Linked DNA regions of Homo sapiens: region 2 is linked to region 1. The links are contacts of gene promoters, found by promoter capture Hi-C in human tissues and cell types (Jung and others, 2019). All regions are on one chromosome and are shown on one strand. Each heading gives the region's core, a stretch centred on a gene start or on the middle of the fragment in contact. The rest is flanking DNA. Distances are from core to core; before and after follow the strand shown. Region 1 holds the start of NAP1L5 (nucleosome assembly protein 1 like 5). Region 2 overlaps FAM13A (family with sequence similarity 13 member A).

Evidence for each region. The method cuts DNA at HindIII sites, captures the fragments that hold promoters and counts their contacts. A contact is called where the count stands out against the background at its distance.
Region 2: a contact is called between a fragment that was not itself captured here and the fragment with the promoter of NAP1L5 in region 1, in 4 of the 25 tissues and cell types used here (adrenal gland, aorta, dorsolateral prefrontal cortex and 1 more).

Annotation. Positions count from the first base shown.
Region 1 is chr4:88,695,803-88,699,349 of GRCh38, reverse strand. It overlaps NAP1L5 (nucleosome assembly protein 1 like 5), which reads left to right and starts at 1,521. Exons shown (of 1, transcript NM_153757.4): 1 at 1,521-3,437. The coding sequence starts at 1,596. The coding sequence ends at 2,144. The region is part of intron 23 of HERC3 (HECT and RLD domain containing E3 ubiquitin protein ligase 3); the gene reads right to left. RefSeq lists an enhancer at 1,372-1,431. The HindIII fragment of the contact is 8,909 bases long and covers 1-3,547 here.
Region 2 is chr4:88,748,298-88,751,520 of GRCh38, reverse strand. FAM13A (family with sequence similarity 13 member A) reads left to right here. Exons shown (of 24, transcript NM_014883.4): 15 at 884-1,097; 16 at 1,612-1,750; 17 at 2,488-2,569. Among named protein-coding and RNA genes, the nearest start is that of FAM13A-AS1, 40 kb to the right of the region's middle. The HindIII fragment of the contact is 6,921 bases long and covers 1-3,223 here.

The DNA.
Region 1 (3,547 bases), core at 272-2,771:
AAGAGGGTGGGGCTGCGTGGGTGGGTGGGGAGGAAGAGGGTGGGGCTGGGTGGGTGGGTGGGGAAGAAGAAGGCGGGGCTGGGGGTGGGTGGGAAGAGGGTGGGGCTAGGGGGTGGGGAAGAAGAGGGTGAAGAGGGTGAGGAAGAAGAGGGTGAGGAGCGTGAGGAAGAAGAGGGTGAAGAGGGTGAGGAAGAAGAGGGTGAGGAGCGTGAGGAAGAAGAGGGTGAAGAGGGTGAGGAAGAAGAGGGTGAGGAGCGTGAGGAAGAAGAGGGTGAAGAGGGTGAGGAAGAAGAGGGTGAGGAGCGTGAGGAAGAAGAGGGTGAAGAGGGTGAGGAAGAAGAGGGTGAGGAGCGTGAGGAAAAAGTTCGGTGGGGGGAAGGTGAGGAAGAAGGCAGTGGGTGAGGAAGAAGGGGGTGAGGAGGGTGAGGAAGGTGGGGAAGAAGAGGGTAAGGAGGGTGGGGAAGAAGAGGGTGAGGAAGGTGGGGAAAAGGACAGTGCGGCGGGGGGAAGGTGAGGAAGGAGGCAGTGAGTGGGGAAGAAGGCGGGGAAGAAGATGGGCAGAAGGTGGGGCATAAGTCAGTGCGGGGGAGGGGCAGGAGGGAGGGAGAAGATGTGGTGTGGAAAGGTGTGAAAACAGATAGTGGGGAAGGCAGGGAAGCAGACGGTGTTGGGGGAAGGCAGGGAAGACGAATGTGAGCGGGGTGGGATAGATGGCACATGCTTTAACCAAGATAAGAGGGGGCCTTGGCCCTGGGCCCCATGCTTTAGAAAGACTTGCTTTTTTTCAGCCCTCCTCAAGCTTTAGTCCTTCCCACAGGCCAAAGATTCTGTAGGATCTTCTAGAACACACACCAGGACACCGGGAGCTCTGAGATTTCCTACCCAAATGGCTCCAAAACTGCTTCCAGGGGAGTCCTGCTGAGAGACGACCTTGCCACCAAGATATATGCCGCTAGGTGTGTGGGATGGCCAAGGGGGTGTTGGGTGGACACATAGGTACAGAGCTTGGATATGCAAGCTGCCCTATCCACACACATGCACCCCAGGTCCCCAAAGGGGTGGAATGGAGCCAGCTTGCCCGTTCCTCCACTGCATGGAGAGGAATGCGGAGGAATCTAAGAGGTGATCAAACGCCAGCTATGGAGAGAGATGCAGAGGAAAGCGAAGACATATGCACTGGCATTTGTAGAAGGGCCTGGATGGGGGTGAGGAGCACACGGAAAATGGTCTGAGGCCATCTATGCAGTTCCTGAAGAAGCACCTCGGGCAGCTACTGACACTCCCAGCCCAGCTCTACAGGGGTGGGTACATGGGTGGGCTGGGAACAGGGTGTCTGTCCAACAGGCGGGTGTTGAGGGCCCAGAAGATGTCAGGGTAGCAACAGGAGGAATCTGGTGCAGTATGAGCACACGGCCGTCAGCTGATAGTGGGAAGCCAGTCAAGTGCCGCGAAAGCAGGAGGCGGGGCCGCGGCCAACGTCATTCCCGCGGCCGCACGTCACCGCCACTTGCCGCATCCGCAAGATCTCTCTGGACCAGCTCGGGTGCAGGGCCTCTGCGGGAGCCCTCCTAGACCTCTGCGGCTTCTCCTCTAACATGGCCGACTCGGAAAACCAGGGGCCTGCGGAGCCTAGCCAGGCGGCGGCAGCGGCGGAGGCAGCGGCAGAGGAGGTAATGGCGGAAGGCGGTGCGCAGGGTGGAGACTGTGACAGCGCGGCTGGTGACCCTGACAGCGCGGCTGGTCAGATGGCTGAGGAGCCCCAGACCCCTGCAGAGAATGCCCCAAAGCCGAAAAATGACTTTATCGAGAGCCTGCCTAATTCGGTGAAATGCCGAGTCCTGGCCCTCAAAAAGCTGCAGAAGCGATGCGATAAGATAGAAGCCAAATTTGATAAGGAATTTCAGGCTCTGGAAAAAAAGTATAATGACATCTATAAGCCCCTACTCGCCAAGATCCAAGAGCTCACCGGCGAGATGGAGGGGTGTGCATGGACCTTGGAGGGGGAGGAGGAGGAGGAAGAGGAGTACGAGGATGACGAGGAGGAGGGGGAAGACGAGGAGGAGGAGGAGGCTGCGGCAGAGGCTGCCGCGGGGGCCAAACATGACGATGCCCACGCCGAGATGCCTGATGACGCCAAGAAGTAAGGGGGGCAGAGATGGATGAAGAGAAAGCCCACGAAGAAAAAAGCCTGGTTTTGTTTTTCCCAGAATATCGATGGACTTAAAAAGGCTCAGGTTTTTGACCAAAATACAATGTGAATTTATTCTGACATTCCTAAAATAGATTAAATTAAAGCAATTAGATCCTGGCCAGCTCGATTCAAATTTGACTTTCATTTTGAACATAATAAATATATCAAAAGGTGTTAAAGAAAACTGAATTAAACCCAAAATTATGTTTTCATGGTCTCTTCTCTGAGGATTGAGGTTTACAAAGGGTGTTAGCAGATGCGAAGTAAAGAACGTCACTTTGAAACCCATTCATCACACAGCATACGCTACACATGGAACACCCAAGCCATGACTGAACACGTTCTCAGTGCTTAATTCTTAAATTTCTTTACTCATGACATTTCGCAGTGCAGAGAAGGCAGAACCCAAGAAAAACGTCATCTTTGAGACTTTGCTTTTGTAACGCAGACATCAGCTTTACACTTCACAGGAGATTGATGGCATTGAGGAAGATTGCAATGGAGATCATGACACTACTGTTAATAAGGCCAGGAAAACTGCCATTTCAAGTTCTGAAAAATGTTTTGAGTATTTGAATTTAGAGAAACAACATGGTTCCAAGAAGGAGGGTGTAAAACCTGTAAAATACTGTCAACATATGTATTCATTAGTTACAATCTCATGTTTGTGTTTTCTTAGTACTGTCTATTTACAAACACGTAAAAAATACCCCAAATATGTTTAAGTATTAAATCACTTTACCTAGCGTTTTAGAAATATTAATTTACTTGAAGAGATGTAGAATGTAGCAAATTATGTAAAGCATGTGTATCCAGCGTTATGTACTTTGCGCCTTGTGACGTCTTTCTGTCATGTAGCTTTTAGGGTGTAGCTGTGAAAATCATCAGAACTCTTCACTGAAGCTAATGTTTGGAAAAAATATATACTTGAAGAACCAATCCAAGTGTGTGCCCCTACCCCCAGCTCAGAAGTAGAAAGGGTTTAAGTTTGCTTGTATTAGCTGTGCCTTCATTATTTTGCTATGTAAATGTGACATATTAATTATAAAATGGTGCATAATCAAATTTTACTGCTTGAGGACAGATGCATACAGTAAGGATTTTTAGGAAGAATATATTTAATGTAAAGACTCTTAGCTTCTGTGTGGGTTTTGAATTATGTGTGAGCCAGTGATCTATAAAGAAACATAAGCTTAAAGTTGTTTATCACTGTGGTGTTAATAAAACAGTATTTTCAAAAAATATATATAAAAGACTCGGTACTGTGACTGCCTGCATTCAAATCCCAGCTCTGCCTCCTATTAGTAATGTACCTTAGGCAACTCAGCTAATACTCTCAGTGGCCAGTTTCTCCTC
Region 2 (3,223 bases), core at 540-3,039, 52 kb before region 1:
ACTGGAGTCTTGAGCAGCTTCTGAAGTTTCAAGTGCAAAGCATGCATCTTAAATGTGCTAATCCCAACACACTTAAGCAGAAGCACACAAAACAGCTTACTGGATGACCTCAAGGGAAGTTATAAACTCCTAAATACATAGGCTCTCTCAAGATTGATGTGGTTCCTTAGCTTGACTCCTCGGTTGTTTGGTGAAGGATGTACAGCCGTGATACCAAATATCTCCCCCACCAACACATTTTCTTTTCTTTGTTTTTTTTTGTTTGCTTGTTTGTTTTTTGAGACAAAGTCTCACTCTGTCGCCCAGGCTGGAGTGCAGTGGCGCAATCTCTGCTCATTGCAAACTCCACCTCCTGGGTTCAAGCAATTCTCGTGCCTCAGCCTCCCCAGTAGCTGGGATTACAGGCATCCGCCACCACGCCCAGCTAAATTTTGTATTTTTAGTAGAGATAGAGTTTCACCATGTTGGCCAGGCTGGTCTCAAACTCCTGACCTCAGGTGATCCGTCCGCCTTGGCTTCCCAAAGTGCTGGGATTACAGGCATGCACATTTTCTTTTCATTGATGCCATCACGTGGAAGAGTTTTTATCACTAATTGACTGGGCTTCCCCCCTTCAAGGCTGCTCCTCAGGGTAGCCTAGCAAATTCTCTTTGGAAAGCCAGTGAGAATGGAAACGAGAGGTAGACAGATGATGGCTGTCAGACATATTGGTGATTTCAGTTGGGGCGCGGTGTCCTTAGCCTGGACCTTAGCTGTAAAATGAGAAACGATTCAATGGGCAGCTTCCTAAAGCATCTGGGAAGCCTGGGAAACACTTGTGTTTTAAAGAACAACCCTGACCTCTTTCAGGAACAGTCCTGATCTTACTGCCCTTATCTTCCAGAGCCTATCCCTGCTTTCTCCTCCTGGCAGCGGGAGAACAGTGACTCTGATGAAGCCCACCTCTCGCCGCAGGCTGGGCGCCTGATCCGTCAGCTGCTGGACGAAGACAGCGACCCCATGCTCTCTCCTCGGTTCTACGCTTATGGGCAGAGCAGGCAATACCTGGATGACACAGAAGTGCCTCCTTCCCCACCAAACTCCCATTCTTTCATGAGGTATGTTTCTCTGTGTTGCTGATAGACAAATGCATCATCCCCACAACATCAGAAAAGAGGAATGGCACTGATAGTGAATAATTTTTTTTAATTAAGTCGTGAGCCTATGGAGCAACATATTTGAAATTCTCCATCCTAGGACACAGGCCATGTTGTAGTTTCCCATTTGAGCTGTGGCCCAACTGCAACATCACATATTGAATTTTCTTAGCGTCTCCTTTCCAAAGCGCTCTCCAATTCAGCTCTTGTAGGCCCACAGGAAAGGTTGATGTCCAGTCCTACTTTGCTAATTATAAATGTGAGCTAGAAAGCCTAGATGTACTTAATAGGTGGGACATACCAAGCTCCAATGGATCACTCAAGTGTCTTTTATTCAAGAGGAGAGAGGCTGTTTTGTCTCCGCACTGCCCCCACCCCACCACCGCATGCCACATGGTGTCCCACTTCCCCAGGGCCCCTCTAGGCAAGCAGTGACTGCTCCTGGGGAAACTGACCCAAGTCGTACTCTTCACAGGCGGCGAAGCTCCTCTCTGGGGTCCTATGATGATGAGCAAGAGGACCTGACACCTGCCCAGCTCACACGAAGGATTCAGAGCCTTAAAAAGAAGATCCGGAAGTTTGAAGATAGATTCGAAGAAGAGAAGAAGTACAGAGTAAGTGTCCCCTCACACTGTTCTTTTCGCCTCATCCTCTCCCTGGACATGGCAGCATTTCAGCAACTCAAAGAAACGACGAAAGGTTAAGGGAGGCTTCTAGGGAATCTTACAACAAAAAGGCAGTAAACCCTGGATAGTACACCCTGATAAACCCCAGTCATTATGTATCAGCATTTTCCTTGCACAAGTGTATTCTTACAAAAAAAAAAATGAAAGCTTAAGTCTACATTTTATAAATTAATCAGTAAGCAGGAACTGGAGAAATTGTTGAATGAAATCCTTTGTTTGACTAAAATTTAATTCAATATTATCTTCTGAAATCTTGTTAGCACTGAGCTCGTTCTGCTGTCAGCTCTGTACCACAAGAGTGGCAAAAAGGCATTTTTGTGACGGTTGCTGAGCAAAACATCATATACCCCTCTGTTTTCTACACTGTTCGTCTTACAGGTTGAACCCTACAAATAATGGCAAGGGGGTCATGGACCTCACAGAAGTCACTGATCATAAAGATGCATTTTGCCTCTGAGGAATTTTTTGAAAGCATCACAATAACCAAATATAAAGAAGGATAATGGAATTACATTTGTGACATTTGCTCTGATTGGTCGTGTTTAATTTCTTATTCTGATGGGGCTCAACTTTTCCTTCCTATTTAAAACAAAAATGATCATCAAACACTTCTTACTTTCCCTGCTCCAGTTCCAAAGCATTTACTCTAGACTTCCTTTTCTCAGCCTTCCCACAGTGACAAAGCAGCCAATCCGGAGGTTCTGAAATGGACAAATGACCTTGCCAAATTCCGGAGACAACTTAAAGGTGGGTAAAATTCTGGAGCTGTGGCTTCTGTACAACAAGCCAGGTGCAGAATCTCTCACCTCCTCTCCCACTGAGTGCCACTGCTAAGGCATTCCCCGGTCCTTAAAGATGCTTCCCAGCACTCTCAGCTATTCAGAGTGACCACTTCCCCAGGTCTTCACATGGTCTCAGTCACAGGGCAACCCGATCAGCTAAGAGGCGAATTCTGCAGCATTTCTTCATTTCCCTGGATCACTAATAGAAGGATGATGGTTTCAAGTCAGCATCTCTCAACACCTGTTTAATCCAAGTCTCCATTTGCTGTGGTGGTAGAAGCAAACAAGTAGACACAGAGATGAATCTGCAAAGGGTATGGCCTCCATCCCTCAAAGAGATTCCCATCTTTTCAGAGACACAGTCATGTAAACAACTAAATAGAATACAAAGTGAACCTAATTTCAGAATAAGGTGTGTAAGTCATACAGAAAAGGTTGGCCAGTGGCTGGGCATTAGATCACTAAATACCTTTAACCACTGAAGGAGCAAGGATGCCACATTCTGAGAGCATCATACAGGCTGATGTGGCTAAAGCTTTCTCAGCAATTAGTGTTAGGGAAACATTCCATGTAATCAAAGAAAATGTTACCATTCTCTCAGGTTTTACATAATAATTCA